Linked DNA regions of Homo sapiens: all the other regions are linked to region 1. The links are contacts of gene promoters, found by promoter capture Hi-C in blood cells and fetal thymus (Javierre and others, 2016). All regions are on one chromosome and are shown on one strand. The core of a region is centred on a gene start or on the middle of the fragment in contact, and the rest is flanking DNA. Distances in the headings are between cores, read along the strand shown.

The links. Contacts are between HindIII fragments. The CHiCAGO score rates a contact against its expected background, and 5 or more counts as called.
Region 2: a fragment that was not itself captured here is called in contact with the fragment with the promoter of MARVELD2 in region 1 in 8 of 17 cell types (erythroblasts, neutrophils, total B cells and 5 more); the score reaches 7.6 in erythroblasts.
Region 3: a contact is called between a fragment that was not itself captured here and the fragment with the promoter of MARVELD2 in region 1, in 1 of 17 cell types (neutrophils). The highest score is 7.3, in neutrophils.
Region 4: a fragment that was not itself captured here is called in contact with the fragment with the promoter of MARVELD2 in region 1 in 2 of 17 cell types (neutrophils and erythroblasts); the score reaches 8.4 in neutrophils.

Annotation. Positions count from the first base shown.
Region 1 is chr5:69,413,789-69,416,488 of GRCh38, reverse strand. MARVELD2 (MARVEL domain containing 2) reads right to left here and starts at 1,373. Exons shown (of 7, transcript NM_001038603.3): 1 at 1,319-1,373. RAD17 (RAD17 checkpoint clamp loader component) reads right to left here. Exons shown (of 19, transcript NM_133338.3): 19 at 1,688-2,458. The coding sequence ends at 2,197. RefSeq lists enhancers at 1-712, 713-1,596. The HindIII fragment of the contact is 19,290 bases long and covers 1-2,700 here.
Region 2 is chr5:69,252,060-69,254,759 of GRCh38, reverse strand. It overlaps CDK7 (cyclin dependent kinase 7), which reads right to left. Exons shown (of 12, transcript NM_001799.4): 3 at 2,309-2,342; 4 at 91-158. Among named protein-coding and RNA genes, the nearest start is that of CDK7, 19 kb to the right of the region's middle. The HindIII fragment of the contact is 554 bases long and covers 1,083-1,636 here.
Region 3 is chr5:69,282,763-69,285,462 of GRCh38, reverse strand. It overlaps CCDC125 (coiled-coil domain containing 125), which reads left to right. Exons shown (of 12, transcript NM_176816.5): 11 at 1-126; 12 at 2,429-2,700. Among named protein-coding and RNA genes, the nearest start is that of CCDC125, 49 kb to the left of the region's middle. The HindIII fragment of the contact is 2,278 bases long and covers 172-2,449 here.
Region 4 is chr5:69,200,927-69,203,626 of GRCh38, reverse strand. It overlaps CENPH (centromere protein H), which reads right to left. Exons shown (of 9, transcript NM_022909.4): 6 at 1,058-1,121; 7 at 657-708. Among named protein-coding and RNA genes, the nearest start is that of CENPH, 13 kb to the right of the region's middle. The HindIII fragment of the contact is 3,881 bases long and covers 1-2,700 here.

The DNA of each region.
Region 1 (2,700 bases), core at 124-2,623:
GTTAAAAATCCAGGTAGAGACGTTAAGAGGGCAAGCAAGGCACACAGGGTATGTACAGACTGGAGACAAGGGAATGCGGTGGAAACCCAGGGTCTTCTAATAGGGCACTCCGACCTTAGAGGATTAACTGTGATGGCCCCAGCAGGGTGCCCAATGCAAAGCGGCTCTGTATATTATAACAATCAGTTATTTTTGTACCTTTCTCTTTCTTTCTCTAAAAAAGTGTAAGTTCTAGAAATGCTATTACGACTCTAGTTTTTGAAACACATTCCTAAGAAATGTAGAAGCAAAAGCACAACAAATGATTTTAGCAAGTTTTACACAGCATTTACAGGATACGCTATGCTTAATTCAACTCACTGGTAAAAATACGATTCACTGTAATGGATTTAACTCTTCACCTGTGAAGTGGCTTATTTGAATCAAACCACCCTATCCATTTTTAAAGAAAAAACAAGCAATTATTAAAGAGTTGTGGAAAAGCAAGATAATGTGATTTTTAGAAGGGAATGGTTAGCTGTATTTCATTACATCTTAAATATCTGGATACCCCTAATGTCTTTCAAGATGTCACTGAGAGTTCGTTCTGGTCCCGCAGGTCGCGGCAGCGTGTGTCTTTGTCCTGCTCAGGCCCCGGACCCTTACTCCACTCTTGGACACTCATCTTGGAAAGCCGCGGCAATGGCAGGAGAAATGGCTGCCCCAGCAAAGTGTCACAGGAATCATGCCTGGTCACCTTTACACAAACAGAACCACCGGTTTACCTGGCTTAAAAGTTTTGCTGGACCCAAGAAACGGGTAGATTTCGGATACTTCTGCGCTTCCGAGGGGTCGGGAAAGGCTCTGCGGTTCTAACTAACCCACGACTGCCCGGGGGTACCGAGCATTTTAGCTGTGGGGTCTCCCCCGCGCCAGCCTCTGGGCGCCCGGTCCCACAAATCTCATTGTGTCCTCGGTTCTGCCCGCGCCGGCTAGGCGTTCGTCTTCGCGTTTCTGGCTGAAACCCACTGTCTTTGGAGATTCCGACCCAACGAGGCCGAAACTAAGCCGGGAGACCTCCCAGGTAAGGAGCACCGAGATCGCCCCGAGGTGCGCGCCCCGCCCCGCGCCCGGAAGGACGGCGGCTCGGCCGCACCTGCGTCCGCAGAGCGAAACCTGGCGGGACGCGGGCCTCCCCGGATCCCTGGCTCCGGCCTCCCCCGCGGGCTATGGCAGGCTGAGCGCCGAGCGCGGGCAGCCGTCCGTCGCAGCACACCTGGGCCGGGGGCCGCCGGGCCCTCCTCTCCCGGTCACGTGGCCCCACCCCGGTCCCACTTACCTGCGCAGCCGCCAGGAAGAGCGCGCACGCTGCCCAGGACTCTGAAACCGGTATCGGGCTCCCGGGGTGGGGGCGGGGCCGGGACGGGACGAGCCCAGCTTTCCCCGCCCGGCTTTGCCCCGCCCGGATCTGTCGGCCCGACAACCGCTCTGGGCCCAGGCTGCTCGGTGCCACCAGCCGGCACGTCGCGGCAATGACCACACACTGGGCTCTTTTGGAAAGAGTTTACAGTTCTCATCGCAACGTTGCCATCCTCTTCCCTATCTTTTGAAAAGTTTGACACTGGGGGAGGGAGATTGGTGCACTGTGCTTAAGGACCCATGGCAGCGAGTGCGTGCTAGATAATGTTAAAAGACAGGAGAAACAAAATTAAATTCAACATTTTAATTGTGATATAACTTATGTAAATACTTTCCAAAAAGTATCTAAGATATTCCACTGTACAACACATCAAAACTATCTGAGAAGCGGGAGACAATAAAGTGTAAATAAGGCACACAGTTTACACTCGTAATTGCATCCTAAACTGTTGAATAGTTGATATTTACAACCCCCCAATAACGTTTTTGCATCCTGAATTAGTCCTTCACATCTTGATATTTGGCATAATGTTCAAACACACTTTATACACACTGACCGCTCCTTAAACCACTCACAGATTTAATAAATACCGAAAAAATTAAGAGATTTGAAGGCTTGATCTTCTATTTACTTCAAGATGACAGAAGAGTAGGTTTCTTGTGATGAAATACTACAAGAATGAAGAATTAACAAACTGTTGTGTAATTCATCAGAAAAGCATATTAACTCTGCTGAAGTACCACTGAATGAAACAAAAATGAAGCTGTGAAGTAGCAATCTGATTAGCAGGCTGGCTTCTATGTCCCATCACTCTCGTAGTCTTCTATTATTATGTTTTCTTCCATGTCTCCTTGGGCTGAAAAGGGCTGGGGCTGGCTAGCAGGCAGTTCACTGGCACTATTCTGACTCAAAGGAAGAGACCAGGTTTCCGGCACAGTGGCTTGAGTGGGTTCACCCAGAGATTCCTCTGCAGAATGTCCTCCATTAAGCTGGGCTTCATCTCCGCTGTCAGGGTCTATCATTCCATGTTCCCTGTCAGTCAGGGCTTCCATTTTCAATCTGTCAGATTCACAGTGCAGGCATTAATAAGAACCAAAGGAGAAGATTTTTAAATTACACCATGAGTGTGATGATTATGAAGCCATCTTTCATTTACCTACATTGTGCTGTTTAGCTAGTCCCTTTAACTATAAAAACAAAACTACAAGGTAAATGACAAACTGAATAAGTTCCTACAACTTAAAATACAAAAAGGAGCTGAACACGATGGCTCATGCCTGTACTATCTGCACTGTGGGAGG
Region 2 (2,700 bases), core at 110-2,609, 160 kb after region 1:
CAAGTCATCTTGCTGAGCCTTTAATCAACATCCATTATATTAAGAAAAGGCAGAGTCCCAAATCCCAGTAACAGTTTTGATCATACTCACACCAATTATATTTGGATGACTTAGCTCCTGTAATAATTTTATCTCTCTTAAGGCGGTTCTATTTATACCTATATAAAAAGGCAAAGCAAAAAGTGAATAATTCTGAAATCTCAAACCTTACAAACACTTCTTTTTTTTTTTTTTTTTTGAGATGGAGTCTCGCTCTGTCGCCCAGGCTAGAGTGTAGTGGCGTGATCTCGGCTCACTGCAACCTCTGCTTCCCGGGTTCAAGCAATTCTCCTGCCTCAGCCTCCAGAGTAGCAGGGATTACAGGCACGCGCCACCACGCCCGGCTAATTTTTGTATTTTTAGTAAAGGCGGGGTTTCACCATGTTCATCAGGCTGGTCTCCAACTCCTGACCTCGTGATCCACCCGCTTTGGCCTCCTGAAGTGCTGGGATTACAGGCGTGAGCCACCACACCCAGCCACAAACACATATTTTTAAAGAAAGGTTAGTAATCTCAGAAAATAGTGAACATTACCCACAAAAATAAGGGCTACTTTGACAATTTTTATGTCAAATCTGTTGTTCTTTTACATTGCTTTATTTTTATTTATTTATTTTTTTTGAGATGGGGTTTCACCCTGTCAGCCAGGTTGGAGTGCAGTGGCATGATCTCGGCTCACAGCAGCCTCCACCTCCCAGACTCAAGTAATTTTCCCACCTCAGCCTCCCGAGTAGCTGGGACCACAGGTGTGCACCTCCACGCCTGGCTAATTTTTTGTATTTTCGTTAGAGATGGGGTTTTGCCATATTGGCCAGGCTGGTTTCGAACTCCTGAGCTCAGGCGATCTACCCACCTCACCCTCCCAAAGTGCTGGGATTACAGGCGTAAGCCATGGCACCAGGCCAATATTGCTTTACTTTTAAAATAGCTTAACAAAGACTACGACAAATGGTGAAAAATATTTCACCTTATCTATACCAGGATCTGAACACCACTACTAGACTAACAACATATATAAGTGTGCAGCATATAGGTGATAAGCTTCCCTACTCTTGCCCTACAAATATTAGTGGCATATTGTTTGTGCTAAAAGCAAACTAGTGATAAGATAGTATATTTTCCAATACAAATGACAGATTTCAAAATTAAAAATTAGATACAGGCCGGGCGCGGTGGCTCGTAATCCCAGCACTTTGGGAGGCCTAGGTGGGCAGATCACTTGAGGCCAGGAGATCGAGACCAGCCTGGCCAAGGTGGCAAAACCCCATCTCTACTAAAAATACAAAAAATTGGCTGGGCATGGTGGTGTGCACCTGTAATCCTAGCTACTCAGGAAGCTGAGGCAGGAGAATCGCTTGAACCCGGGAGGTAGAGGTTGCAGTGAGCCGAGATTGCGATACTGCACTCCAGCCTGGGCAACAGAGCATGACTCTGTCTCAAAAAAAATAAACAAAATAAAAATAAGATATAGTATTGGCACTTACACAGACAATGGGTCTCTTTTGTAAGAGCTATTTTATGATGAATCCTAATAAATAAGACTTTGGAAGAAAGTTTAATGAAATAATTTCCTCATGTATCTATTCCATAGTAAGCTTTATGTACTTTCATGAAAATGTATCCTGAATTTTCAAAGTAATTAGAAACTCAGAAACAGAAAAAACAATGGCTTGTAACACCTAAAACAGTAATGAAGACAGAAAGACAAACTAATTAAGCTTGCTGCCTTCCATTTATGTGGGTGATTTGGAATGTTTCTCTGAATATCCAGTAAGTAAAAATCACCAAATACTCCTTCTCTATGCTGAGTCTATCTTTACTCTTCGGGGACCCTGCAGTAACTCTATCCAGAACCATTACTAACTTATTAATTCATACTTTGCTCGTTTCTTCAGTGAGAATGAAAACTTTATGCTGGGCATGGTGGCTCAAGCCTGTAATCCCAGCACTTTGGGAGGCCGAGGTGGGAGGATAGCTTGAGGCCAGGAGTTTGAGAGAAGCCTGAGCAACACAGCCAGACCTCATCTCTACAAAAAATAAAACATTAACCACAAGTGGTGGCACATGTTTACAGCCCTAGCTACTCAAGAGGCTGAGGTGGGAGAACTGCTTGAGTACCTAAGTTTGAGGCTGCAGTGAGCTACGATTGTGTCTCAGTACTCCAGCCTGGGTGACAGAGCAAGACCCTGTCTTTTTAAAAAAAAAAAAAAAAAAAAAAAAAAAAAAGGAGAAAACTTTTCCTATCTGTCAGATTACATGAAATACTTACCATCTTTAGCTTCTGATCTATGTCCAAGTTTGATCTGGTAGAAACGGAAAAAAACCCAAATATATTAAAAATGTGTTAAATTATTTAGAATCAATGAATAATGTGTAAATACTTCAAATACTTCGCCACAGAAAAAAAAACAATTAGCAACCAATATGTACCTACTAGGCAAAAAGAGAGTAGGAATCATGATCAGAAAGATAAAATTAACAATATAAGAGAGAATCAAATACCTACCCTTGTCCCTTAAGTTTCTGAACTACACATTCAAATAATAAAATTAAGAAAAATCTATTTTACCTTTTCAAGGTTCAATGTGGACCAAATAACTAAGGGTACCCTGATTAAAAATAAATACGTAACTTCAAATTAGGCTACTTGGGAGGAAAGAT
Region 3 (2,700 bases), core at 61-2,560, 130 kb after region 1:
CCATCACCAAGGAGTAAGAAGACCTTCGGGCAGAGACTGTTGGGTATGCTCCCTTCAGAAAACAGTTCTAAGAGGATGGAAGACCAGGACAGTCCTCAAGAGGTCCTTAAGATGCTCATAGATTTGGTTAGTGTCTTTGCTTTTTTTTGCAGGTTATGGTTAAGCCAAGCTTGTCCAACCCACGGTCCGTGGGGAGCATGCAGCCCAGAACAGCTTTGAATGTGGCCCAACACAAATTCGTAAACTTTCTTAAAACATTATGAGATCTTTTTGATATATATATATATTTTTTTAGTTCATCAGCTATCATTAGTGTTAGTGTATTTTTTTGTTTTGTTTGTTTTTTGGTTTTTTTGTTTGTTTGGTTTTTGAGACAGAGTCTCTGTCACCCAGGCTGGAGTGCAGCGGCGCGATCTCGGCTCACTGCAACCTCCACCTCCCGGGTTCAAGCAATTCTCCTGCCTCAGCCTCTAGAGTAGCTGGGACTGCAGGCGCCCACCACCACGCCTGGCTAATTTTGTGTGTGCGTTTTTAGTAGAGACAGGATTTCACCATGTTGGCCAGGCTGGTCTCAAACTCCTGACCTCAAGTGATCTGCCCACCTCGGCATCCCAAAGTGCTGGGATTACAGGCGTGACCCACCATGCCCAGCCAGTGTTAGTGTATTTTATGTGTGGCCCAAGACAATTCTTCTTCTTCCAGTGTGGCCCAGGGAAGCCAAAAGATTGGACACCCCTAGGTTAAGCTAATCTATTTGCTTCCTGTTAATTCAACTCTTTATCTCTCTAGACTTGCACTTGCCTTCTATGTCCTTTTCCCAGTTGGAGTACCAGACTCTACCTTCATGATCTTTATCTCCCTCAGCTCATCTTTTCTCGTCATTCATATTCTTTCTGTGCAGGTTTAAAGGCTCCATCTTGGAAAACAGGGGGCTCCTGTAGTTAACTCCAGCCAGCTTTGCCATCTACATTTATATATATACAGTTTGTGACAAGTCTGCCTGTTTATTGAGGCATTTTTAAAGTGTTCAAGGCATTTCCTCACACATTATATCCTTTACAGTCCTGCTACCCACATTCCACATGGAATGACTAAACTAAGACACTGAGACTCAGGTTATATGAACATACTTATCTCTAGACTGTTATATATTTGCATACAAATATATGAAAGCAATTTTATATACAAATAACTTCAACATTATTTTATAAATATGCACGTTGATATATTTTTTATATGTTGATATTATATACCTATATATACACACTTCATATAGATCTATATTTTCCCTTCATTTCCAGATGACTTGCAAAATTTTCAATGCTGTCTTCTGTTTTTTTTTTTAAAAAATTATTTTTAAAAAATAATCGTCGGGGCTGGGCACAGTGGCTCATGCCTGTAATCCCAGCACTTTGGGAAGCCGAGGCGGGTGGATCATGAGGTCAGGAGATCGAGACCATCCTGACTAACACGGTGAAACTGTCTCTACTAAAAATACAAAAAATTAGCCAGGTGTGGTGGCTGGCACCTGTAGTCCCTAGCTACATGGGAGGCTGAGACAGGAGAATGGTGTGAACCCAGGAGAGCGGAGCTTGCAGTGAGCCAAGATCATGCAACTGCACTCCAACCTGGGTGACAGAGCGAGACTCTGTCTCAAAAAAAAAAAAAAATTGTCAGCCTGGCATGGTGGCACACATCTGTAATTCCAGCACTTTGGGAGGCCGAGGCGAGTGGATCACTTGAGGCCAGGAGTTCGAGACCAGCCTACAAAAATTAGCAAGGTGTGGTGGTGCACGCCTATAGTCCCAGCTACTCTACTCGGGAGGGTGAGGCCCAAGAATCACTTGAGCCTGGGAGGCAGAGGCTGCAGTGAGCCAAGATGGCATCACTGCATTCCAGCCTGGGCAACAGAGCCAGACCCTGTCTTAAAAAAAAAAAGAATTGGCCGGGCACGGTGGCTCACGCCTGTAATCCCAGCACTTTGGGAGGCCAAGGTGGGCTGATCACAAGGTCAGGAGATTCAGACCATCCTGGCAAACACAGTGAAACCCCGTCTCTACTAAAAAATGCAAAAAATTAGCTGGGTGTGGTGGCGGGCACCTGTGGTCCCAGCTACTTGGGAGGCTGAGGCAGGAGAATAGTGTGAACCTGGGAGGCAGAGCTTGCAGTGAGTGGAGATAGTGCCACTGCACTCCAGCCTGGGTGACAGAGCCAGACTCCGTCTCAAAAAAAAAAAAAAAAAGATTCATGAATAACATGTAGTATAATGTTTGGGGATCAGGTGATACCTAATTTATTCATACTGATGGACAGATCAGTATGAATATTAGGGTTGAATAACTTGATAAAATAGTACAATACTCCTTTCTCTGAATATATTCTGTGATTTATTGACTAACTTGTACATGTTTAATTTCTGTGCATGCAGCTTAATGATAAAGAAGAAGCTTTGGCTCATCAAAGAAAAGTTAGCTACATGCTTGCTCGGGCATTGGAAGACAAAGACACTGCTTCAAACGAGAATAAAGAAAAAAATCCTATAAAAGAGAATTTCCCTTTCAACAACCCCTGGCGTAAGACTTCAGAATTCTCTGTTTTGGGTGATCCTATACATTCAAGTGTCTGCATTTTAAATTCTGTGGGCTGCATTTGTTCAATCCAGCACTCTCAAATAGATCCAAACTATAGAACTCTTAAAAG
Region 4 (2,700 bases), core at 30-2,529, 210 kb after region 1:
GAGGCCGAGGCAGGTGGATCATCTGAGGTCGGGAGTTCAAGACCAGCCTGGCCAACATGGTGAAATCCCATCTCTACTAAAAAAATACGAAAACTAGCCAGGTGTGATAGGACATGCCTGTAATCTCAGCTACTCTGGAGGCTGAGGCACAAGAATTGCTCAAACCCAGGAGGCGGAGGATGCAGTGAGCCGAGATCGTGCCACTGCACTCCAGCATGGGCGACAGAGTGAGATTCTGTCTCCAAAAAAAAATACCATATTAAAAAATTTTTTTTAACATAAAAATACAAAAATTAGCCAGGCATGGTGGTGGGTGCCTGTAGTTCCAGCTATTCAGGAGGCTGATGCAGGAGAATCACTTGAATTTGGGAGGCAGAGGTTGCAGTGAGCCAAGATCAAGTCACTGCATTCCACCTGGGTGATAGAGCAAGACTGTCTCAGAAAAAGCAAACAAAAAACGAAAATAAAGTTCTAAAACAATGAGAATAAACAGAACAAAATGTACTTTATATCACTTTTTAAGTTGCCATGTCAAAAATTTTAAGGAATTTTGGAAGTCGGAAATTAGGAAATTTCTCAGTGGCTAAGAGATCTGGCCTTATCAATCTATAAAGTAAGCAAAATGTGTTCTGCCAAAAAAAAAGTGTTCTACATACGCAATCTCTTCTTTCTAATATCAAGCAGTTTTTCCTCTAAATCCCAAGATTCCTGTTATTAAAAATAAAAAAGTTAAAGCACATTACTGTATGTAAGGACAAACCTGTAATACTTAAATCACTGAGTTTATCTACTAGCCTTAGTTATCTAAAGTTCCAGTTTTCAATTCCTCTATTTCCAGACAGCAAAAGGAAGACAGTAACTTAAATTATAAGTAGATAATGTTCAACATTAGTCAGAAATAATAGAATTTTGAAAAAAAGAGAGAACTCAAGGACAGCGAATTCCAATCATAGCATTCCCTTTGGACAATCTATTTAATCATATACAATACAGTTACCAGCAAGAAGTTGAGAGTAAAATCATGAGAATGCATAATCAGCCTAATGTGTAAGTTTACCTGCTGTGATTTCATTATTAATTTATTTAGCTCTAATAGGTGTTTCATGTTATCCATGAGCACACTGAAAAGGAAACAAAAAGATGATTTATTAAGGTTATTTGTAACTTAATTAAAAATAATAGCTGTCATTAATGAAGGAATCAATGAGTGAAAACTTACTTTCATTAAATCCACCGTACACTTGGATAAAAAGTCAGTTTAACAAAATAAATCTGGAAAAGTTTGATGTAAACTAAATTTCTGTTAAAACTAGATATGCATTTCCCTAGAAAAATGTTTGGTCACAGACATTGAAGAATACCAAATTTAAAAATGTGGGAACATTTCTAAAAATTTCATATTTAGAGAGGAAACACCCTAATAACTTCCTAACAAGCTGCTTTTGTTTTGAATTTATTTTTTAGAGCAATTTTAGTTTTTATTTTGAATGTATTTTTTAGAGCAATTTTAACAAGCTGCTTTTGTTTTGAATGTATTTTTTAGAGCAATTTTAGTTTCACAGCAAAACCGAGTGGAAGGTACAGAGATTTCTCATATACACCCTACCCCTGACACATGCATAGCCTCTCCCATTATCAACATCCCCTACACCAAAGTGGCACATTTGTTACAATCAACAAACCTATATCGACACATCATTGTTACCCAAAGTCCGGATTTTACATCAAGGTTCACTCTTGCTTGTGTATAGCCTACGGGTTTGTTTTCTGTGACAGGGTCTCGCTCTGCCACCCAGGCTGGAGTGCACTGGCACAATCACAGCTTCCTGCAACCTCACCTCCTGGGCTCAAGCGATCATCCTGCCTCAGCCTCAGAAGCAGCTGGGATTATAGGCATACACTACCATGTCCCACTAATTTTTACATTTTTTGTAGAGACGGGGTCTCCCTATGTTGCCCAGACTGGTCTGGAACTCCAGGGTTGAAGCAATCCTCCCTCTTCAGCCTCCCAAAATGGTAGGATTATAGACATGAGCTACTGAGGCCCCACCCATTCTTTGGGTTTTGACATATGTATAATTACATGCATCCACCATTATTGCAGCATACAGAATAGTTTCAAGGAACAAACTGCTTTTTTACTTCTTTAACAAATATTTTTGAGTACTTACTACATGCTTTCAAGAACTATGCCAGGTGCCAGGAATGTAAAATAAAATAAAACACAGTATCTGTTTTCAAAGAGGAAAGAATCTAGTGGAGAAAAATAAATCCACAATCATACTATAGCGCAGTAACAAATATGAACCAGAGTTATGCACAGGGTGGAATAAGGATATGAAGTAATTGCCTAGATCAAGTAGTTTGGTATGGCTGGAGCAAAACAGTATGGAATAAGACTGCGCAGAGCAGTGGCTCTCATACTTCAGAGTGCCACAGTCATCTGGGAGGTTCGTTAAGTAAGGATTCCTAGTTCCTGACCTTCAGATATGCTGATTCGGGGCCTGGTTCAGTGGCTCATGCCTGTAATCCCAGCACTTTTGGAGGCTGAGGCAGGAGGATTGCTTGAGCTCAGGAGTTTTGAGACCTGGGCAATATAGCAAGACCACATCTCTATTTAAAAAAAAAAAAAAGGTCAGGTACAGTGGATCCCTTGAAGTCAGAAGCTCGAGACTAGCCTGGCCAACATGGCAAAACCCC